Regions from separate parts of the Homo sapiens genome. Here all the other regions are linked to region 2. The links are contacts of gene promoters, found by promoter capture Hi-C in blood cells and fetal thymus (Javierre and others, 2016). All regions are on one chromosome and are shown on one strand. Each heading gives the region's core, a stretch centred on a gene start or on the middle of the fragment in contact. The rest is flanking DNA. Distances are from core to core; before and after follow the strand shown.

Region 1 (3,251 bases), core at 318-2,817, 4.1 Mb after region 2:
TACAGAGATTATACCAGTTTACTCACCACAATCAAAGTTTAAGTGCGTCTTTCCCTCAGCCGCTTCTATACACTGTTATCAAATCTTGGGTATGGACCGATTTGGCAGATTTTTGAAATGCTATCTCAATGTGAAGGGGGTTTTTTTAGTGAATTTTTTTTTTTTTTTTTTTTTTTAGAGACGGAGTCTCACTGTGTTACCCAGGCTGGCCTCTAACTCCTGGGTTCAAGCCGCCCTCCCACCTCAGCCTCCTAAGTAGCTAGGGCTACAGGAATGCACCACTGCACCCAGCTTCAATGTGGTTTGAATTTTTATTACTCTTTTTTTAATGAATCTTTTCTGATGGTTAATAGCCATTTGTATTTTTTTCTCCGTAAATTAATACTTTAAGCTCTTTCTCATATACGTAAATTTTTAAAACATGCATACTGATTGTTTATAGCCATGAACATGCATAATGAAGGGTGGGAGAGAAACTCTAACCTCAATTGAGAGGCTGCTGCTGGCAAGGATGGCAGGCGGGTGGGACAGGGCAGACAGCAGAGACACAAAGGGATTATCGATGAGGGGGTAACATTTTATTTCTTTAAAAAAAAAGCACATGAAGCAAGAAAGAAAATTGAAAAAAAAAAAAAGGAAGCAAGGGAGGGAAAGAGAAGACAAGCTTTAAAATCAGTAAAGCTGGGCTTGAATCTCAGCCACAACACATGCTCTGTGGCCTTTCAAAGCTCTCATAACCTCTCTCATTCTCAATTTCCGCATCTCTAGGATGTAGAGAATTTAATGACTAAAGATAATCCATGTAAAACCATGATTAGCACATCATTGTTGCTAAACAGTCATATTACATTGTTAATTTGATTATTATTCAAATGTATATGATGCCTCAAGCCAAGAGAAAGGGTCTGGTGGCTTTTCCTGGCTCAACTACCTTTTTCCTGTTAGGTTTCCCCAGGGGGTAGCCTCTTGTTGGTGACATCATGCCAGCGGTTTCACCCTCTCTTGACTATTTTCCAAATGTCCTCCCCAGAGCTGCCCCTGTTGGTGTAACTGGCGTGACTGAGAGAAGCAAGGATGTGCTTGGGGTAGGGCTGGGAGGGGGAGTTTCCTCTGTGTCGCAACCACTGTTTCCAAAAGCTGTGACCTCTGTTAGCTGTGAGATTTTGTCTTCCTGTTGTGGCAACATCTGTAGAACCACATCCATGGTTTACCTGCAGCCTAAAACGCCCTGGCCTCGGAGGAAGCTAACACCTCTTTCTCCTTAGTTTGCATTACCTCAACAAGCAGTAGGCTGCCCCACCACACCCACCACACCCCAAAGCTTCTTGATGCCTTGTTTTTCCAAAGCCTCAGAGACACAGAAAAGTTATTCCTTTGCTGTAAACTCCTTTTATCAGAACAGAAATGATTAGAGCAATGAATTTGGTACACACCTTTTTCCCATCTTTGAATTATTTTCTGAGTTGAAATGGTTTCTATTCTTTTTCATTATTTTGATCCTAAAACATCAGAACACTAGAAAGGAGAGAAGAGACAAAGGAAGAAAAAGAAAAAAAGAGGATTGCCGAGGCAGAAAGAAGAAAAAAAATAGGGTTGAAACAGATGGTGTCCTGCCAGAGTCACCTCTTAGGCCCTGGAGACAAGCTCCAGAAATAATCTAAAGGCCTACGTTGGACACCAGGTCCTTCCTTAGTGGCTGAACCTTTGCTCTCAGAGACCAAATAGCTCTTGTATAGCTAATGCCCAGCTATAAGTGAGAGAATGCTGGGTGAGCTTAAAGGAACACCCCTTCTAATAACATCTGGAAGCTTCACCAAACCAGCAAAGACAATGTCCTTCAATTATAATTGCAGCGATGAACCAATAACCCATCAACCAAATCATGAACATCATGGAGAAAGGAATTACTGTTTTTCACAGAGGTGAAGATCGCTTTATCTTTGGCAGAACTGATCTGAAGGGAAATTGTAAGAGACATGAAATTTAACTTTCCTGGCATTTGTGAATATTTCTTCTTTTAATAACCTGGATTCCATGAAACCAGGAACCTCTTTCTGTAGCATCCCTTGCAGGCCTGCCATCACATTTACTGCCAGTGCCTCACCTCTCTTGCCTTCATCCAAATTTCCCTTTCATTGGCCTAGTTTTCTGGAGCTCTTTGCTGGGAGACAGACAACTGCCTGTTCTGAGAAACCATTCCATTCTAAAGTGATAATGGATGCTGCAATAGGTAGAATAATAACCCCTCCAAATATATCCATGACCTAATCCCCAGAATCTTTGAATATGTTACGACATAGCAAAGGGGACTGTGCAAATGAGATTAAGGTTAAGTACTCTGAGATTATCCCGCATTACCCAGGACAGCCTAATCCAACCACGAGTCCTTAAAAACGGGGTCAGTTTCCTTAAAAATGAGTCAGAGAGGTGAGAGGAAAGAAGAGTTTCTGACTTTGAAGATGGCAGAATTGGGCGTGAGTCAAGGAATTCGGGTGGCCTCTAGAAGCTGGGAATGTCCCTCAGTGATAGCCAGCAAGGAAACAACATCTCAGTCCTACAACCAGAGGAAATGAATTTTGCCAGCGACCTGAATGCGCAAGGAAAGAGATCCTCCCCTAGAGCTTTCAGAAGGCACATACCCCTGCTGACACCTTGATTTTAGCCCAGTGAGACCATGTCAGACCCACAGAACTGTAAGAGAATAACTTTGCATTGTTTAAACTACAATACTTGTGGAAATCTGGGGTGTTTTTTTTTTTTTCTAGCAACAGTGCTAACATGAGACTCAGTCAGTAGGGATTTCAGTTTGTTTTCTAAAGCAACCATTACGGTACAACGTGGGGGAAAAAATGTGTGCATTTTGGAGCAAGCAAGTTGTTTTGCCACAGTTTGTGGTCAGGTGTGTACACATTCATCTGTCCAATAAACATTTATGGAATGCCTACTATGTACTAGGCACATAGCTCCCTACACATATGCTTCCTTTTAGATCATATCTACATAAGTGGATTCAGTCAGCCAGCAAGTCAACAAATGTTCACTGAGCATCTACTATGTACTAGGTACAAGGACAACTCAATTGGGATTCACTGAAAGGTTCTTTAAGCTGTGTGCCTGGGGAGCCTGAGATTCCAAATTATGCAAAGTAAGATTGGAAGCAGACAGCACTGAAGTCTGTTTTCAGAACAGCTATGAGATATTGTCTTCCTTTTATAAATGAGAAAACTCATGCCTAGAGGGATTAATTGACC
Region 2 (3,273 bases), core at 154-2,653:
ACTGCGACGCTACTGTGCTCCACAGACAGTATTACTAACAACAACCACTCCAGGATGCTTCTCTAACGTTAACTATGAGACAGTTCTCGTTCTCATGAGTCAGTAAGCTTTAATTCTACAGGTTTTGAGAGCAGTAAGTCTGTGCCAAGCTCTTCGTTGTTTCATTTTTAATGAAGGAAAACACGAAAAGCTATTTTCATTTTTATACTGAACTTCTTTTTGTGAAAGTAGATTAAGCTTTATATGCACACGTACACATACAAATGCATACATATAAATGTAAACGTATGTAACATGCACTCAGCACGGTCTGGAGGACCTAGGAACATAGAGGTTTAATAGACCATTTATCCTAACTTTACCCTCAAAGAACCAAAGTGATTTGAAAACCCTAAGTAAATTTGGAAGCATGAAAACTTTGCAATAACAGAAACAGCCATCTCCTATATTCTCTACTCTCTCCAAAAGACATGGTCTGGGCATTAGTAGTGTTCTTATCCCCAGGGTTGGATATGTTCTGTGGACAGATTAATGCTGGAGGCCCTTAAGTGGAATGGAGCAGGATGGGACGGGGGCGAGGGGGGCACCAGAGATGGATCTTCCAATCATCACCATAATCTTCCTTCAGGGAAACTCCGTAGTGGTTCAAAGCCCAAGACAGTCACACAAACCTGTATCTGAATTCCAGGCTCCAACCTTACGGAATGAACCTGGGCCAATGTCTCACCCTCTATGCCCGTTTTCTCGTCTACAAAATGAGGCAATAACAAGTATCTCACAGTGGAGGATTAAAGTAATGCCCGTCAAGTGCATAACATAGTGCTGAGAACTTAAGAGTTCAATAAGTTGTCATCTCCAGCACTGTTATTTGTGAGAAGTCACCTTTTCCTGTTCTTTCTCAAACCTACGAACTTGTAAGATCGAGAAATACGAACCAAAGATGAATAAACGGGGAAAACCAAAATCAAAACAAACAATTCTGAAAAACCTCTTCGTCCTCAGGAGCAGAGACAGAACTCGAAAGTAAAACCTCCACCTACTTGCTTCCTGCCGCAGTGGCTGGAAGAAAAAAACACTGACCCGTGTGCGCTGAGATAAACAAACTCGGTGGCGCCCCCCTCGGATCCGGGGCTGGGAGGGTGGCGGTGAGACCACTCCCGGCCGGAGGCTCTGACCCGGGCGGAATACGCCTGCAAAGCCGCCCGAGCCCCGGTGGCTCGTCCCCCTCGGCGCCCCCGCTCCCACCGGAGACGCCCAGGCCGACTCCCTCACCTCCACCAGCCGACAGCTCCCGGGAACAAAGTGTATAGAGAGCTCTTTCTCCCGCCCCACCATGCCCGCCGTCTTCACGCCGCAGCCTCAGCGGCCGCCACCTCCTCCAACCCAGGATCGACGCGGGCCTCAGCTCAGACGCCCTCGGCCCGCCTCCCCTAGGCCCAGAACGACCCCGCTCGCCGCTTCCGGCTTCCGCTGCCATAGCCGCGCCCGTTGATTGGCCACGCTCCGCCGACGCCCCAGAAAGAGGGCGGGTACGCGCGGTCTGCCCCCAGCCCACGCGCCGATGCTTAAAGCGACACACAAAAGAAAGGCCCTGACCTTAGGCAGTGAATTCAGGTTTTGTTTCGGAGATTTTATTTGAGTGCTTTTTATTCTACTTTTTTTCCTTTTTTTCTTGACTCGGGAAAAGATTGAAGTGGATCGCCTTGAGTTTCAAGTTTGCAGACTGCGCAGTGCATGAGGATCGACTGAGCAATATAAAAAGTGGAATAAAAAGCATTTTAAAGTCATGGGGGCGGGGGCGGAGGTGGGTAGAGCATAATGGACACATCTCTAGAGCTCTAGGTGGGGGTTTTGAAAGATTTAGAAAAAGACAAGGAATAAAAATAAAAGGGTTGGCGTCTGAGCCATTTGTCTTCCTGGGATGCTTAAAAAAAGAAAAAACCTGTGTGTGAGATATCAAAAATGTAAAACTATTTTTAACTAATTAAAAATAAAAAGTTGTAGGGGGAAGGAAGATGAACTACTTAGGTACCTCTTCAAAACGCAGATCCTTGGACTTTACCCATAATTACAGAACAAGAAACGAGCCCGGGGTCCGACTTCTTAATGGGTTTAACCAGAATCAAGCCCACTCTTTAAGAAACACCGCCTCGGGGATTGCAGGATTGGGCCACACGAGCCCAGCCTTGGTGAGCACCGAGAATTTAAGCAGCAGCGTGTAAGGCTGGGCGTTCTACCACCTTTTAAAAGTTAAGCAGCCCTAAGTGCTGATGCCGACTTATTTCCCTTCCAGTTAAAAACCGCAAAAAATCCTCAGCCAGGCTGGACGCCTGTGAAATTGATGCAGAAAGTAAACCCTGGCACAGGCCGTGTAGGATTTGCCAACTTTGCACCGAACAGTCCAAGGGTTCTTGTGTGCCCAGGATAGCAAGCTCTAAACGTCGTCCACAAACGTGACCACTGTCTGGATTTTCCTAGGGCCTTTCCCCGACTCCTAAACCTTTTTGGTTTATTTTCAAACTAAAGACTAAGCAGCCTTTTAAAGAAGTTTTCCACGTCAGAACACCATGACTTTCCTTCCTCCTCAACCCCCAACAAAAACTCATTTCCTTATTCGTGTAAACATAAAGTTTCTCTAGAACAGTAATCGAAGACAGCCTGAGGTTTCTTATGTTCCGATTTTTTTTTTTTTTAAACACAGGCTATTACTGTTCATTAGTTTGGCTTTATTTAGGGAATCCTTGAGGACTGCCCCAGCGCTAAACAAGCATAATCAGGGGACAACAAAGAAGAGGGCGGGAAGAGGGCCGGGGGAGCAGCCAAGATCATCTTACTACTTTTTCTCTTAACTGGGAATTCGGTTTAAAGTTTCTAGTCGCAACACGTGATGTAATCTTACCTTTCTATGGGAGAAAAGAAAATTAATTCTTCATTCTTCAACGTGAAGCAGGTTTAAGGGCAAGCATATGCAATTAGCATTCTGATTCTCAGAGCAGCCTAGTCTTGAGGAACAGAAAGAATTTAACTTGGCTGCTTTTGAAAATCTGACTTGATACTTTCCCCGTAAAAGTTGGGTACAGTTCTAGGGGCATATGTTTGGATATGGTTTTTAATCATTTTCTTTAATGATGGTAGGGTCTATGCGAATCAAACGCCATTCTTAACATAGACAATATACAACTTCGTGTGGTGGCTAAGTCTATACATTTAAAGAGAGCAGCCTGAAACTAAAAGTTATGTTAGCAGATTCAATTCATACAAAGACAAAGAACA
Region 3 (3,304 bases), core at 693-3,192, 3.5 Mb after region 2:
GGAGGCACATGCAACAAAACTTTCTGCTTTAGTCTTATCTAGGTGGGACAAGAAAACTACACTTGGAATGCAAATACTGGAAGGGCTAGGGACATCAGTTCTATAATTATTTTGAAGGGAATTCCTTATCATTAAAAAAATAAGCTTTTGGTTTTGTCTTCTTTGAAATCAGATATCACTTGCTTTACATACATAAAGACATATCTGTTCTTTCCACAAGTCACCTTTACAGGTCCTCTAGGGAGGCATGAGGGAGGATCTTTGGATCTAAGCCACAGTTAGAACCTGCCTCTCAGTAGGTGTTATCCTTCTGAGGAAAAAAATGACTGATCTATGAGGAATTAATCTTGGAAATAGTCCCTTGTTTCTTAAATCAGAAAATTCTATTTCCCAAAACTCAATCTTTAACAGAAATAAATTTTCTATGTCAGGACTGCTTAAATTCGGCCCAACAAGTTGTTTTTAGACCTTGATCAACGGATGTAGGTAAAAGAAAACCTCCTATTCAGTTCTTCCGATGTTGGATGCAGTCAATGTACGGGTTAGGTCAATACTTCTTGTTTTGGAAGCTTAGTCATCTGTGTCCATCTGGATCTGTTTCCCATGGTGTGGCCACAGTTCTTCCTATATCAAAATTACCTGGGAGGCTTGCTAACAAAACAGATGCCTGGTTGTTGCCTCACAGGTGTGTGGTGTCAGACACTTCTCAGGCTGTGCATGGTTAATACATTTCCTGTGATGCTTAGACACAATAAAGTCTGGAAACCACTGATCTACACAAAGTGACCTTTCTTAATAAACACAGGAAATACTGAACGTCATTTTAACTTTTCTGCCAGCAAATAATGTAAACACACCTCACTAACTTCCAAATGTTTTAGAGCAGCGGTCCCTACCCTTTTTGGCACCAGGGACTGCTCTTGTGGGGAACTATTTTTCCACGGACTAGGGTCTTGGGGAAGGGGGTGTTCATAATGATTCAAGCACATTACATTTATTGTGTACTTTATAATTATTAAACTGTAATATATAATCAAATAGTTATACAATTCACCATAATGTAGAATCAGTGGGAGCCCTAAGCTTGTTTTCCTGCAACTAGACGGTCCTACCTGGGGGTGATGAGAGACAGTGATAGACTATCAGGCATTAGATTCTTGTAAGGAGCAGGCAACACAGATCCCTTGCATGTGCAATTCACAACAGGGTTCACAAGCCTACGAGAATCTAATGCTACCATGGATATGACATGAGGTGGAGCTCAGACAGTAATGCAAGCGATGGGAAGTGGCTGTAAATACAGATGAAGCTTCGCTCACTAGCCTGCTGCTCACTTCCTGCTGTGTGGCTGGGTTCCTTACAGGCCACAGACTGGTATCAGTACATGGCCGGGGGTTGACGACCCCTGTTTTAGAGCAAGCAACCCTTATTTCCACTGGTTTAAACTTAGCATCAGGCCAGGCAGGGTGGTTCATTCCTGTAATCCCAGCACTTTGGGAGGCCAAGTGAAAGGGCCTCTACAAAAATAAAAATAAACAAACTTGGGATCAGAAATCTAAGCTCCTTCTAGGATTTGATTTAATCGTTTGTAGACAGCATTAAGTTCAACAGTGGTAACTCTAAGAAGTTGGTAAAACTGACCACCTTAGTTCCAAAGGATGCCTATTAGAAATGAAAGAAAAGGAGGCTGGGGCGGGCGGATCACTTGAGGTCAGGAGTTCGAGACCAGCCTGGCCAACATGGTGAAACTCCGTCTCTACTAAAAATACAAAAATTAGCTGGGTGTGGTGGTGGGCACCTGTAATCCCAGCTACTTGGGAGGCTGAGGCAGGAGAATCACTTGAACCTGGGAGGCAGAGGTTGCAGTGAACCAAGATCATGCCACTGTACTCCAGTCTGGGCGACAGGGCAAGACTCTGTCTCAAAATAAACAAACAGAAAACAACAACAACAAAAAGAAAACAAGAAATGAAAGAAAAGGGAGGCAGGAGGCAGGGCACAGTGGCTCATGCCTATAATCCCAGAACTTTGGGAGGCCGAGGTGGGTGGATCATGATGTGAGTTCGAGACCAGCCTGGCCAATATGGTGAAACCCAGTCTCTAGTAAAAATACAAAAATTAGCTGGGTGTGGTGGCACACGCCTGTAGCCCCAGCTACTCGGGAGGCAGAGAGAGAATCGCTTGAATCCGGGAGGCGGAGGTTGCAGTGAGCAGAGATCGCACCGCTGCACTCCAGCTTGGGCAACAGAGAGGGAATATCCATCTCAAAAAAAAAAAAAAAAAAAAAAAGAATGAAAGAAAAGGGAAACAACAAAATCAGAAAGGTTGCTCATGACGTTAACAGGACTATGCAGGCCACTATGGAAGAAGTTACTGAGAACTTTTTGGAAGCAATCGAGAGTATTCCCTGCAAACACATCCACAGCCACAACATTAATTAGATTATGAAAATGGTGCAATAGGGTGGCAGAAACATGGAAATCCAAAAGATTAAGTAATGTGGAATTTAGGAAAAATGACAGAGGGAAGAGACTGAAATATAACATCTGTTCTAAACTGAAACTTCTAAGCTTTGATAATGGTTCCTAAAGAGAAAATGACCTTAAAGAATAATCCTTAAAACTTTCAGAGCCTAATGTTTTAAAATCCCAGATACCAGGCATTCTGAATCCATGTTCACCAAGCAACAGACTTTTGGATCCCTTATGTGTACATGTAAATGAATACCATTTGCAAACCACTAGTGAAAGGGAGCAAACCCATTGAAATGACTAAATCTGCATTTTGGCTTACAAATAAAAAATGTTTGTTTGCAGGAAAGAATTAAATCACCAGAACCTGGATAAGTTCAAAGTTCCTTCATCTTCTTCATATTAATAAAGGCCACACCATCCATCCAGTAGCTGAAGACAAGGAATCATTCTAACGTCTCACTCCATCCCGCCAATCGAATCCACTGCAATGTGTGGTCTGCTTTACCTCTGAAATATATCCCAAAATCATACACTTCTCTTCAGATCCACAGTTCAAGCTACTATCATCTTCACTGGGCTACTGCATTAGAGCCTAATTGGGCTCAAATGTTCTATTCATGTCCCTCCTCCATCCTCATACCCCTCCATTCTCTGTATAAGAACTGAATTCTCTTATTAAAATGTAAATAACTTCCGTCTCTCCCTGGCTTAAAATTATCCATCTGTTTCCTTCTGCACTTGGAAAAAACTTCAAGTTCTTTACTACGGCTTAGGAACTATTCCATAATCAGACCCTTGCCTACTATCAGCCCACTCTCTTCCTTAATCAT
Region 4 (3,393 bases), core at 255-2,754, 4.2 Mb after region 2:
ATCAGAATTTTGGGCAAAGCCATTCAACAAGTCTCTAGGAAGTTCCAAACTTTCCCACATTTTCCTGTCTTCTTCTGAGCCCTCCAAACTGTTCCAACCTCTGCCTGTTACCCAGTTCCAAAGTTGCTTCCACGTTTTCGGGTATCTTTTCAGCAATGCCCCACTCTACTAGTACCAATTTACCGTATTAGTCTGTTTTCATGCTGCTAAGACATACCCAAGGCTGGCCACAGTGGCTCATGCCTGTAATCCCAGAACTTTGGGAGGCTGAGGCAGGTGAATCACCTTAGGTCAGGAGTTCAAGACCAGCCTGGCCAATGTGGTGAAACCCCATCTCTACTAAAAATACAAAAAAAAATTAGCCAGAGGTGGTGGTGGGCGCCTGTAATCCCAGCTACTTACAGTTCCACAATGGCTAGGGAGGCCTCAGAATCATGGCAGAAGGTAAAAAGCACTTCTTACATGGCAGTGGCAAGAGAGAATGAGGAAGACAGAAAAGCGGAAACCCCTGATAAATCCATCAGATCTCATGAGACTTATTCACTTATTCACAAGAATAGCACGGGAAAAATCGGCCCCCATGATTCAATTACCTCCCACTGGGTCCCTCCCACAATAAGTGGGAATTCTGGGAGATACAATTCAAGTTGAGATTTTGGTAGGGACACAGCCAAACCATATCAATCAGAAAATACAAAACCCATGGGTACAGATCTAAGCACACAAAGATTATATAGTGGCTGCCACTCATGTAAATAACCAAACATATGTCTCTTCCTGCATAAAGCTTTCTATTTTTCATTAAACTCATTCCTCCCACAGTCCAGAGAACTGGATTTTCTAATCTCAAGGTATTGGTATTTCCAATGCTTTCACTTATTTGATGAAACATTTGATTGCACTCTTCATGCAACTATTAGGACCAACTGCAAGAAAGAGGTTAAATTTTTAATCTCCACTTCCAAAAATAATTTAAAAACAGTGTCTCCTACTAAAAGGCCAATTAGAAGAGAGAGCCATAAATTCATATTTATATTTACTCATATATGAATACAAATATGAACTATAAATGTATATTTACTCCTATGTTTACAATGTGTTCTACTGAAAATGTAAAGCAAGTGTCTTAATTTAGGGTAACGTATTCCATTTTAGACAGAACTATAACAAATGTTATATTCTTCAATTAAAAGTGGACCTTTTGAGTTAAACTGAAATACAGTTTAAATATTTTCTGTAAGACATAAGAATAAAAGGGAATCCTACGAGAGCTAGAAAGGCAACCAGCACTAATATCGCATATATTGTGATGCGTAGTAGTGCAGAGTTTGGAGTGAAATCATCTGAGTTCCAGGTGACCCTGGACAAGTGATTGCTCTTCTAGACTAGTGGTTTTCAAAGCATGGTCCCTGGGCTAACGAACAGCATTGACCTCACTTGGTAATTTGGTAGAAATGTAATTGGGGTGGAGAGAAGGGACCTAGGAATCTGTGTTTTAACAAGGTCAGTCCTCCTCACCTCTGATGAATGCTCAAATTTGAGAGTCAGTACTACAGGCTCTTCAATGTTTTCAGCCTTAAAAAAAATGTGCCAGAGGGCATGGGCTCTATATGGTTAATAAAGCAGCATAAAAACGTTACGAAGCACCTATCCCACAAGTGGAAATTCCAAGTTGGCAAATGCCTTAAAGGGCCAAGCGAAACAAACACCATAAAAATTGTAAATGCATATGTCTTTAAGATTTGTTTAAAAGTTACTGAACCTTATTTCATCATTAAGACCGTTCACACCAATGAAGCAGTGTGATATAAATGCATGAGCTATTTTGCTTTCACATTTAACCTTCTTTCTTAGTATTTTGTATCATTTCAGATCCCATCAGATTTATAAGCTGAAAAATGATTTGGGGTGTGGGGAGGAGTGAAGTTGGCAAACCCAAACAAGCAAGCAAAGAATACACTTCCATATGGTCAACCTAGGGTCAAGAATAGCTGTTTAGGTTGGAGTTCTACCTAACATACTGTGTTGACTTTGCCTAGTCAATCCACCTCTTGGCCTCAGTCTTCTCAACAAGATGAGGCTACTAATATTCACTGGACAGGAGTAGTGTTAAGGTATGAAGTAACACCTGTGACAGCACTTTGTAAACTGTAAAACACAATACAAATGGTGTTCATGATGGAATAAAAACATGCTAAACAATTATCTCATTGAAGCTTCACAATCCTGAACCAACAGCTGTTGTCCTCATTATACAAATGAGAATCCTGAAAAGAAATTAAACTTGCCCGGGACCACAAACCTAAAAAGTGGCAAATGAAGAAATTTTAAAGTATAGCAGTAAAAGTAACACTTTGGGAATTAACGGGAGGTTAACTTTCAACAATCCCAGCAAAAGATAACCGTGAAGCACTAAGAACTCCGGCGAGAACCGCACACCAGCAACAACTGCGAGGTGGTGCAGGGTCGGGGGCTGTGCTAACTGACTTAGGGGAGCATTAGGAGGCAGGTGGAGGCTCCAGAACCAAAAAGGCCGGGATGCCTTCAACAAGGAGGTTGAGGGGAGGGATGGACAAGCCTGAGAAGACGGAGGAATGAAGTTTGGGGACGCAAAACCCACTGGGAAACAGAAAGCCCTCCAAATAGGCTAGACTGCTGGATGGGAGGACAGCGGCCCCCGCGACTAAGCGGGCCGGGGCTAGGGGCCTGGGCGTCAGACTAGGACAGACACTATCCCCAGCCCGCCGCAGTGCAAGCCACGCCGCGCGGGCCGCAAAGCCACTGTCCCCGAGCCCCAACAGCGTCTCCAAGGGCAGCGCGCCAGGGTGCCCCGCAACCCCTCACCTGGAGCGCGGTGGAACCTGCGGCAGCGGACGCAGAAACCGGCCGCTGAGAGACCGAAAGCGACCGGAAGTGAAGGGCGGGACCGGAACCGGCTGAAAAACCGGAAGTGGGTGGTTTGAAACGGAAATATGTTGGGGACGGAACAACTGCTTCCTTTGAATCTCTTCGGGTGCTAATCAAATGGCCGCTGTAAGGGATCTCCACAAAGCCACGAAGAAGCCAGGCCTTTCCGAGACTGTAACCGCTGTGCAGATAGCGCCGATCCCTGGGTGGCCGCTCTCTCGTTCTGCGCGTGCGCTCGTTCTGGGCTGGGAGCGGATGGGTGCTGAGGCGTGTGACGTCTCTAGTAGTGTCGTAACTGGGTGTGCTGCCTTTTCCAGGTGTACTGAGGTCTTCGTGAGATTCAGGGCTAGGACTCGTGTGGCTGTGTCATGTTCCGAATGAAGCTTAAAAGGTGATCTTTGAGAACTGAAGACTTGAGACCCCTCCATGGGCCCAGGGGCTGCCAACACTAATAATTTCAGAGACTTAGAATCTGAGGAGAATCTC
Region 5 (3,420 bases), core at 132-2,631, 3.4 Mb after region 2:
TTGCTATTTTCAGTCTTTTCCATGTAAAACTGAAATTCTGACTATGCAATTTACCAGCCGAGTAACCTTGGGCACCCTCTTTGTGCCTCAAAATTTTAAGGATTGAGATGATATGCTATAGTGTTTGTATTAGTGCCTGGTACATGGTACTCAAAAGACACTAGCTGTAATTATTCTTCAGGACTTTATTTTTTTTACTTTCATTGCTAGCAGTTTTTCTACCCTCTCTCCTGCAGGCATTCTCCCAGAAAAAAGGCTGACTCTGTGGTGCCATTTGAGAGAAATAGGTTCAGTAGATTCTTCCAGAGATGACAAACGAAAAGACTTGATGTGGAAGTAAGAGAAGTAGGGGCGTCAGGACACTGAAGTGAGAGATCTTTTGTTCTCGTGGCATTGGAGAAGCCAGGAAAGAAAAAGGCTTTAGCAGGGACCAGGTGCGTCCACTTTGCAAGTGGATTTGGAGAGAACAAGCAGTGTTCACATATCAGTCCAGCAATGTCTCAAGACTCCTTCCTGGAACAGTCATCAGTTTAATCCAGTGAGGATGGTGTCTCTCTTCTTTCATGAGCATTTTCCTATTTCTGAAATATTAATAAATAGGTGCTTTGTTCCTAGGAAGTGGAGAGAAGTCAAGGAAAATACTCATCATACTCCTAGAAGTCAAGGAAAATACTCCTCGTACTCCTCATGGCCGCTGGAGCCCGCTGCTATGAGGTTATGGAGAACGTCTTGAACATTCCATTCCCCAGCACCTAGTGCAGTGACTAGCATAGTAGGCACTCAAAAAGTGTCTGTAGGATTGTATTTCAAACTTTAGTTGTCTTTCCCAAAGAAGCCTGTCGTGCCCACACGCGGCCGCAAGAAGTCCGCGCCTAGAAATAACATTTATTCTAAGGATCTCTGCGCAGAGATTCTTGGGAAGCGGTTCCCCTCCCGCATTCCCTTGTTACTCCTCCCCTCGGCCGCCTTTGAAAGAAGTGGCACGCCACATGATTCCATCCTTTCTCCCACCTCCAAAGACCTGGCTGATAATGGGCAGGAGCGTAGGCCAACCATAAAACTTTATTTCCTCTTCCAGCCAATAGCAAGAGGCGATGAGTATATGGCTCCTCTTTTGTGACTTCCCCCGCCCCCTTTGATTCCGCCCCCTATTCCTCCACTCAGATTCCACACTTGACAACACATCTGGCCAATGAGAAGTTCCTACTCTGCGTGGGAAGGATGGACTGACTAGATGATAGACGTCCATCCCTGGCCAATGGAATATCAAAAGTGCGGGAGGGGTGTAGAATGCAACCAATGGCGAGGTGCCAGAAACGAGCATCAGGGAAAGGGCGGGACGAAAGTGTTCGCGGGAGGGAGGGGAAGGCCCAGGGAACCAAGCAGCGCTGTCGCCGCCGCCGCTGCAGCCGGAGTTGGAGGAGGGAGAAGCTAGGAAGAAAATGGCGGCCGTGGCTGCAGAGGCGGCAGCGACTGCAGCGTCCCCCGGGGAGGGGGGCGCCGGCGAGGCCGAGCCGGAGATGGAGCCCATCCCCGGCAGTGAGGCCGGCACTGACCCCCTCCCGGTCACGGCCACTGAAGCGTCTGTGCCGGATGGCGAGACTGACGGGCAGCAATCCGCTCCTCAGGCCGACGAGCCGCCGCTCCCGCCGCCACCGCCGCCGCCGGGGGAGCTCGCCCGCAGCCCAGAGGCGGTGGGGCCGGAGCTGGAGGCTGAGGAGAAACTGTCCGTTCGGGTGGCGGAGTCGGCGGCAGCCGCGCCTCAGGGAGGGCCGGAACTTCCACCTTCTCCTGCATCGCCGCCGGAGCAGCCCCCGGCTCCCGAGGAGCGCGAGGAGCCGCCGCTGCCTCAGCCCGTAGCCCCGGCGCTCGTGCCGCCGGCGGGCGGGGACTCCACGGTGTCGCAACTGATCCCGGGCTCGGAGGTGCGGGTCACGCTGGACCACATCATTGAGGACGCGCTTGTCGTGTCGTTCCGCTTCGGGGAGAAGCTCTTCTCCGGGGTCCTCATGGATCTGTCCAAAAGGTACCGCGCCCGCCCCCAGCACCCTCCGGTCCGCTGGGTCCCCAGGGAGGGAGTGAGCCCGGGCGGCCCCCTCTCCCCGAGCCCTCGCTTCCCCGCTGCCCGGGGCCCCGCCCTCTGGTCCTGCGCGGCGCGTGGCGCGCGCTCCGAGTGGGGCAGGCGCGCGAGACCGGGAGAGGGCGGTCCCGGCCCCAGGTGGGCGCCTGCGGGGCAGGTGTGCCACCAGGTGGGAGGGTGCAGGTGCAGATGGGCTCACAGGTCTCACCCCTCACGCCTGGTCTTCTTCTGCGACTTGGCCTGGAGTCACCGTCACTGGGCGGGTGGGTTAATGCAAGATGCAGATGGATTTTTGCAGAGAACGGAGTGTTGGACGGGGGGACGGGGGGGCGGGGGGCATTGCTTGCGAGGAGGCACTTGTCTGTCCTCTAACGTTTAACTTTAGCGGGATTGGAGAAAGGGGTGTGTACATTGGGGTTCCCAAAAGGTTACCTGTCACTCCTTACAGGGGGAAGAGCATTTGTTAAAATGAACCTTTTAACTGTAATTCTTACGGTTAGAAGTCATTCCCGTTAGGTTAACCATTCAACAGAGAAGCATATTTTGCTAATTTTAATGATAGTTTAAGAAAAGTTTAAAGAAGAGATTGGAGATTTTTAAAAAATCCTTTAATGTCAAGGTGGTGTAGCATAAAAATGTTCAAGTAACTTCTAACACCTGGGATTCAGTTTATGTATTAAGGACAAGAAGGTTGAGTTCATCTACAAATTTGGCTTAACCACATTTTCATTTTTTGATTTAAAATGTTTTTGGGCTCTGCTTTCAACAGGGGAAGAGAACCTGTTCTAAGTCTGGAGTTAACCTTTTTATTCTCTTCTTTTGCAGATATGAAGTGCAGAGACTCCCATTCACGGCTTTCCATTCTGTTTCCTGCAACAGCACACGCTCTGATCGTATCTCACCTGTTTGCAATGGCTTATTAGTATGTTTTACTCTTAAACTTGCTTGCTCTCCCATCAAGACCCAGGAATCCTTCTTTCCCATTTGGGGAAAAAAGCCATTTAAAATTTCATATTGAAGTATGGTGTTTGAGGGGAAAGATGAGAGCAGTTATTCTGTATTATTTAATCTCAAATATCTTTTTTTTTTTTTTTGAGACGGAGTCTCACTCTGTCACCCAGGCTGGAGTGCAGTGGCGCCATATCGTCTCACTGCAACCTCCGCCTCCTGGGTTCAAGCGATTCTCCCGCCTCAGCCTCCCAAGTAGCTGGGACTACAGGCGTGCGCCACCATGCTGGTCTAATTTTTGTATTTTTTAACTAGAGCCGGGATTTCACCATGTTGGCCAGGCTGGTCTTGAAATCCTGACCTCAGGTTATCCACCCGCCTCAGCCTCCCAA
Region 6 (3,252 bases), core at 587-3,086, 4.3 Mb after region 2:
GTTGACTTTTTATTTTTATATATTGTGTCTTCTGAATTTTAGGTCTTCTCCAAGAAAAAAAAAAAGAAAAAAAAAAACAACATGGCTGCAAAGGAGAAACTGGAGGCAGTGTTAAATGTGGCCCTGAGGGTGCCAAGCATCATGCTGTTGGATGTCCTGTACAGATGGGATGTCAGCTCCTTTTTCCAGCAGATCCAAAGAAGTAGCCTTAGTAATAACCCTCTTTTCCAGTATAAGTATTTGGCTCTTAATATGCATTATGTAGGTGAGTGTCTACATCACATTTTCTAATCTTCTAGTGAGCATTCTGATTTATGTCTTAGTATCTTTTTGAATTTGGGTAAAATGAAGTTCATTTTCATTAAGATGATAGTGATATAGTTATTGATGAGTGTTTATGAATCTTGATAGTTTTGTCTTATCATTGCACATGAATTATTAAGGCTACAAGAAAGTAAGCAGTATTGGATTTATTTTACTGGATAAAACTGGAAGGCAGAAGAAAACATTCTAGATTTTAATATGATGAAATATAAACAATGAGAAATACTTTTAGAGACATTTGGCCCCTTCTAATTTGTCCTTGTTTTGGGGTTTGGTAGTAATTCAGAAAGTAAGCTTTTTAAAATGCAACATTCTTTATTGTTCCCTGAGATAAACGAAAACATTAACATCAGCTGAAGATAAAGTGTTCAGTTAAATGAAATTTGGGAAATGATACTATAATACTTTGTTCCATAAAAAAAATCCTCCTGGAACTATAATTTTTTTTTTTTTTGCTTGAATCCCCTTTCAAGAAAAATGGAACTATCATTGATATGCTATGGGGTTAGTGGTAAAAATAATGATAAGAGATTGAAGAAATTAAAGTCAAGAAATACAAGCATGAAACAGATAAAATTTACCTAGAATAAAAATCATGATCCTTACTTTTTAGGTTTTGGTTTATTTGTAATGTATATAGCAATATATTTTATTAATGTTGTGATTGCAGAGTTCCAGACATGGTTTGAATGGTACTATAGTGGTTTTGCTAATATTTTATTATTAGAGTTGCCTGTCACAAAATATATCTTTTATAAAGTCATGAAGAGTTGTCCTGTCTCTCTGAGATTTATTTTTATCACTTTCTGGGTTCTAAAACTTAGCCCTGAGAACGTTCCCCTTACATCCCTAAGAGGTAAGCTGTTGTGGAAAGAAGTATGATGTAGTAGAAGAGATGGTGCACTAGAAACAAAACGTTTCGGTTCAGTAAACTCATCTTTTGTGGATAGCACTACCTTGGGAATGTCTCTGAAATGGGAAAGTTCCTTTATGTTGCAAAACACTGTAATTCTCAGCCTTTTATGAAAGGCTTTGTATGTTAGCCAATTTATGGAAAGTAATTCCCGTCAGTTGTAGAACAACTGGGTACTTGGCTTAGATTTTTAGATTAATCAGCAAAGTCATACATACTGTGGTTTTAAAAATGTGCTTATATATTGTTTCTGAATAGGTTGAAATATTTATTATAAAAACAGCTGCCTGATAACCAGGAATATTAATTTTAGAAATTGAATGTTTTCGAGTACAATTGAAGTTCATAATCTGGTTTATAATTTTATAAAGTTAGTTGAGCCATCTTAAATATGCTTACTCCATGCCAAAGTAGAGTAAGCTCAGTGGTTGCATGAACAGATATTTTCAGCTTGAACAATGTTTTGGTTGGAGTTACCTTTGTCAAAATATTACATAGTGTTTATGTAATGCTCCTGTTTACAGAATTTCACCCTCAAATACAAATCAAATTTCACCTTAATAAAATAATGTATCTACATTCAGAAATAAAAAAGCATAAAAAGTATTTAATGAAAAGTATCTCCCTCCCATCTCTGTTACTCATTCGCTGAGTTCTCACTCTGAACACCATGTAGCTTTTATTTCTTTCTGTATAATTCTAGAGATATTTTTATGTATATATAAGTAAATATAAAAAATGTATATTTCCCCCCTTTTTATACAGATGTTAGCATGGTATACATGGTTTTGAATCATGGTTTTTGTTTGTGATGTATGTGGAGCCATAACTACTGCTTTTAGATATTTATGAAATAGAGTTTTGTGCTCTTTTTCTTATGATGACAGTCTGCCGGATCTTAAAGACTCTCTTGAGTAGATATCGAGGCCTCATTTCTCCTCTTCCCGATTGCATTTTACGTTGGCATAGTATCTTCGTATGGATATACCATAATTTATTGAACTAATTACTCCATTGGTGGACATTTTAGATAGCCTACCTTCTGCTATTTTGTACAGCGTTGTGCTAAATAACTTTGTATAGCTATAATTTCAACAAGTACAAATATAACCTGGGGCTAAGTTACTAGAAGCGAAGTTGCTGGGTTAAAGAGTACAGTGGTCCGTCGGTGTATGCTGGAAGTTGGTTCCAGGATGCCCACGTATACCAAAATCTGCGCATACTCAGGTCCCTCAAGTGACCCTGTGGAACTATGTATGCAGAAGGTTGGCCCTCTGTATACGTGGGTTTTGCATGTTGCAAATACTGTATTCCATAAGAGTTTGGTTGTAAAAAATCTACATGTAAGTGGACCCTCACAGTTCCATCCTATGTTGTTCAAGGGTTAACTTATATATATTTGTAGTGTTGACAGATAGTACTTTCCATAGGGTTTTACTATTTTGTACCTCCAAAAACCGTGGTTGAGAGTTCCTACAATCCTATATTATCAAAACAGCCTGTTACCACAAATATTTTGGCTACTCCAATAGGTGGAAAAATTGATTTTTTTAACTCAATGTAGTTTTAGTTTGCATTTCTATTATGAATGAATTGAACATACACATACTTAAGAAAAACCTGTATTTTCTCTTCTGAGAGTTGTCAGTTTATATACCCTGCCCACTTTTCTGTGAGATTCTTTTTTTACCAATTTGTGGGAATTTGGTATACATTAGGGAAATTAATCCTTTGTGATAAGTTGAAAATAGTTTTTCCAGTTTCAACTCAGTGATTTTGCTTATGATTTTTTGACATTTAGAAGGTTTTTAAGCTTTAGTATTTTGAGTCAATTAGAAAAGCCTTCTTTATTCTTGAGTTTATAAAGAATTCTGTTGTATTTTATCTTACTATTTTTGTGGGTTTATTTTTACATTTAAATCTTTGCTTCATTTATCTGTATGAATAGTGTGTTATAGGTATAATTTTATTTTTTCTAGATAACCACACAGTCATCCTCACCTATTTAGTCCATT
Region 7 (2,963 bases), core at 88-2,587, 5.0 Mb before region 2:
CCAGGTGTGGTGGTGCATGCCTGTAATCCCAGCTACTGGGGAGGCTGAGGCAGGAGAATTGCTTGAACCTGGGAGGTGGAGGTTATTGTGAGCTGAGATTGTGCCATTGCAATCCAGCCTGAGCAACAAGAGTGAGACTCCGTCTCAAAAAAAAAAAAAAAAAAAGATAATATGAGAGATGTCATGGGAGTGGGGAAGATAGAGTCTAAGGTGAGTAAATGGATCAATCAGCTTTGGGAAAAGGATGTAATGCCTGCAGAGTTTGTCTGACAGTAATATATACACACAGGAGAATAATTATGGGAATGAGGTCAACACTCTGGGATATGTCATCACCAAATACGAAAGGCAGGCCAAAAAACTGCAGCAAGTTCATTTTTTTAAAACAAAATTGGTAAAACACTGTTAAATCATGAGACCATTAAATAAACATAGCACAAGCTTCATGGGGAAAAAAAGTGTTTTGAAATACCAGGTGGAAAAAACCCCAAATGATTATGTAAGATATAAAACTGTAAAATAACCAACTTAGGGCAGAGAAAATATGCAGGTGTATTTTCAAATATTTCCTTTATGATAGAGGCAATGATTTAAAAATCAAACATGTTTTTTTAAAAAAGGCATGGGCATAAACTGTTGAAAGAAATGCCTCAACCTTGCTGGGTGCAGTAGGTTATACTTGTAATTCCAACACTTTGGGAGGCCAAGACAGGGAGGGTTGCTTGAAGCCAGGAATTCCGAGGCCAGCCTGGCCAACACAGCAAGACCCCATCTCTATTAAAAAAAAAAAATTAGCTGGATGTGGTGGCACACGCCTGTAGTCCCAGCCACTCAGGAGGCTGTGGTGGGATGACTGCTTGAGCCTGAAGGTTGAGGCTGTACTGAGCCGTGATGATGCCACCACACTCTGGCCTGAGTGACAGACACCCTGTCTCAAAAAATAATAAATAAATTTTTAAAAAGAAATGCCTCAACCCTACCTAAATCCTACTTTAAGTTAGCCAAACAGTTAGCAGGATGAAACATTTCAAAGAGTCCTGAAGGACAGGACAACACCAACTTGTCACTATTTGCACCAACTACCTCAGTCCTAAGTTGTCTAATGCAGGGAAAAGAATAGGGTTTCTATGCTTCTTTTCCAAATTCCATAGGATATACTTCCAGAATCTTTGGTAACAAAGGCTTTAAAAAAGCTATAATGATTCAAACTGGAGAATAAAACTGGAACCCAAAGTACTCACCTTTCGAAGAATATTCAGTCGATACTTTAATTTTAAATTTTCTTCTTGTAACTGCTCCAAATTTGGAGAAGCTCCTAAACAGCCACAGTTTTTCAACCGGTCAATTTCAGCAGTCAGAGATTTAATCTCTTCTTCCTGTGGGAAAAAAAGCACTTTTTTCAGTCCATAAACTTACTTCCACATTTCCCCTCTCTACCAAGGCGTGGCATAGACCATGGGAATCATTAATGTTCCCTTTGATGAGCTGTGTTTCTTTCTCCTCTGAGATTTTTGCTGACGTTAGCATATTATCCTTAATAAGAAAATATTGGCCAGGCATGGTGGCTCACGCCTGTAATCCCAGCACTTTGGGAGGCCTAGGCAGGTGGATGACTTGAGGCCAAGAGTTCAAGACCAGCATGGCAAACATAGCGAAACGCTGTCTCTACTAAAAATACAAAAATTAGCTAGGCATGGTGGCGCATGCCTGTAATCCTAGCTACTTGGGAGGCTGAGGCAGGAGAATTGCCTGAATCCCAGAGGCTGAGGTTGCGGTGAGTCGAGATCGTGCCACTGCACTCCAGTCTGCTTGACAGAGCGAGACTCTGTTTCAAAAAAAAAGAAAAAGAAAAAGAATATATTAACCACACATACATGTGTTTTGGGAGACAGGAATCGGAGTAAGTATATAATGGGATATGCCTCATGTCTCATATCCCTAGTTCTTTTCTTTGGCTCGATAAACACTCTGATTTAGCAAGAGTAGTTAAGTTTCAGGTTGACCAACCTGCTTTTATTCCCAAATCCTATGACCTGGGACTCTTAAAAAACCCAAATGTCCTTTGTCACATTCAAAATAGCTCAAGGGTCTGCCTTTCACCCTTTCTGGGACTAAACAATTTTCCCATTTCTTCCTGTTTCCAGTGTCTTAGGTCCTAGACTAGACCAGACCAGGCTTTGTAGTTTAACATCTAAAACTAAAGACATGTCAATTCAGAAAGAAATAAAGCTTCCAACTTAAACTGCAAAACTCAGGGGGAGTTCCTCACCTGAAATTTCAGAATACTTACTGGGAGATAGCTACAGCCAAAACCAAATTGCCAAAAATGAGCATACATTATGTTCCAGGAGCTGAGCTAAAAACACTTTTCAGAAATTACCTTCATGATTATCACAACCAAGTGAGGCAAAGATAAATACATACCGATAAATAAATGGCTCAGAAATGTAAAGAGCTTGCCAATTTACTTGACTAACTTGTACTTTGTGACTGCTGATTAAGTATACAGCCGTAACAGGACAGAGTACTGTGAACTATCTTCCTACCATCCCTCCCCACCTGGGCATAAAAGGTAATGGAACTGTTCCGCTTTCACTTTTTTTTTTTGTAGGGGGACGGAGTCTCACTCTGTCGCCCAGGCTGTGGTGCAGTGGTGTGCTCTCTGCTCACTGCAAGCTCCGCCTCCCGGGTTCACGCCATTCTCCTGCCTCAGCCTCCCGAGTAGCTAGGAATACAGGGACCCCCCCCAACACAGCCGGTTAAGTTTTTTTGTATTTTCAGTAGAGACGGAGTTTCACTGTGTTAGCCAGGATGGTCTCGATCTCCTGACATCGTGATCCGCCCACCTCGGCCTCCCAAAGTGCTGGGATTACAGGCATGAGCCACCGCGCCCGGCCGCTTTCACTTTTATATGGTGTGGCTGCTCCTTCCCGACGAATGCTGAGGGCACAGAGCAAGCTCCG

The links. Contacts are between HindIII fragments. The CHiCAGO score rates a contact against its expected background, and 5 or more counts as called.
Region 1: a contact is called between a fragment that was not itself captured here and the fragment with the promoter of MAT2B in region 2, in 1 of 17 cell types (total CD8 T cells). The highest score is 7.3, in total CD8 T cells.
Region 3: a contact is called between a fragment that was not itself captured here and the fragment with the promoter of MAT2B in region 2, in 1 of 17 cell types (naive CD4 T cells). The highest score is 6.4, in naive CD4 T cells.
Region 4: a fragment that was not itself captured here is called in contact with the fragment with the promoter of MAT2B in region 2 in 3 of 17 cell types (activated CD4 T cells, total CD8 T cells and total CD4 T cells); the score reaches 11.0 in activated CD4 T cells.
Region 5: the fragment with the promoter of PWWP2A here is called in contact with the fragment with the promoter of MAT2B in region 2 in 1 of 17 cell types (naive CD8 T cells); the score reaches 5.5 in naive CD8 T cells.
Region 6: a contact is called between a fragment that was not itself captured here and the fragment with the promoter of MAT2B in region 2, in 1 of 17 cell types (total CD8 T cells). The highest score is 7.3, in total CD8 T cells.
Region 7: a fragment that was not itself captured here is called in contact with the fragment with the promoter of MAT2B in region 2 in 3 of 17 cell types (naive CD4 T cells, non-activated CD4 T cells and total CD8 T cells); the score reaches 16.8 in naive CD4 T cells.

The regions. Positions count from the first base shown.
Region 1 is chr5:159,410,365-159,413,615 of GRCh38, reverse strand. No RefSeq gene overlaps it. Among named protein-coding and RNA genes, the nearest start is that of LINC01845, 54 kb to the left of the region's middle. The HindIII fragment of the contact is 487 bases long and covers 1,324-1,810 here.
Region 2 is chr5:163,503,749-163,507,021 of GRCh38, reverse strand. MAT2B (methionine adenosyltransferase 2 non-catalytic beta subunit) reads right to left here and starts at 1,403. Exons shown (of 7, transcript NM_013283.5): 1 at 1,273-1,403. The coding sequence starts at 1,335. RefSeq lists a silencer at 1,087-1,226 and enhancers at 1,397-1,516, 1,557-1,646, 864-1,670. The HindIII fragment of the contact is 7,455 bases long and covers 240-3,273 here.
Region 3 is chr5:160,018,566-160,021,869 of GRCh38, reverse strand. All of the region lies in intron 2 of TTC1 (tetratricopeptide repeat domain 1), which reads right to left. It overlaps LOC124901124 (a long non-coding RNA gene), which reads right to left. Exons shown (of 2, transcript XR_007059025.1): 1 at 2,839-3,304. Among named protein-coding and RNA genes, the nearest start is that of TTC1, 11 kb to the right of the region's middle. The HindIII fragment of the contact is 1,261 bases long and covers 1,312-2,572 here.
Region 4 is chr5:159,262,812-159,266,204 of GRCh38, reverse strand. It overlaps UBLCP1 (ubiquitin like domain containing CTD phosphatase 1), which reads right to left and starts at 2,915. Exons shown (of 11, transcript NM_145049.5): 1 at 2,845-2,915. RefSeq lists enhancers at 2,675-3,182, 2,939-3,248, 3,279-3,348, 3,183-3,393. The HindIII fragment of the contact is 1,429 bases long and covers 790-2,218 here.
Region 5 is chr5:160,117,411-160,120,830 of GRCh38, reverse strand. PWWP2A (PWWP domain containing 2A) reads left to right here and starts at 1,381. Exons shown (of 2, transcript NM_001130864.2): 1 at 1,381-2,026. The coding sequence starts at 1,443. RefSeq lists silencers at 1,256-1,305, 1,466-1,565, 1,666-1,845, 1,966-2,385 and an enhancer at 1,330-1,829. The HindIII fragment of the contact is 17,972 bases long and covers 1-3,420 here.
Region 6 is chr5:159,200,447-159,203,698 of GRCh38, reverse strand. It overlaps RNF145 (ring finger protein 145), which reads left to right. Exons shown (of 11, transcript NM_001199383.2): 2 at 43-265. The coding sequence starts at 82. Among named protein-coding and RNA genes, the nearest start is that of RNF145, 7.5 kb to the left of the region's middle. The HindIII fragment of the contact is 2,432 bases long and covers 621-3,052 here.
Region 7 is chr5:168,487,015-168,489,977 of GRCh38, reverse strand. RARS1 (arginyl-tRNA synthetase 1) reads right to left here. Exons shown (of 15, transcript NM_002887.4): 2 at 1,242-1,376. Among named protein-coding and RNA genes, the nearest start is that of RARS1, 2.0 kb to the right of the region's middle. The HindIII fragment of the contact is 1,788 bases long and covers 444-2,231 here.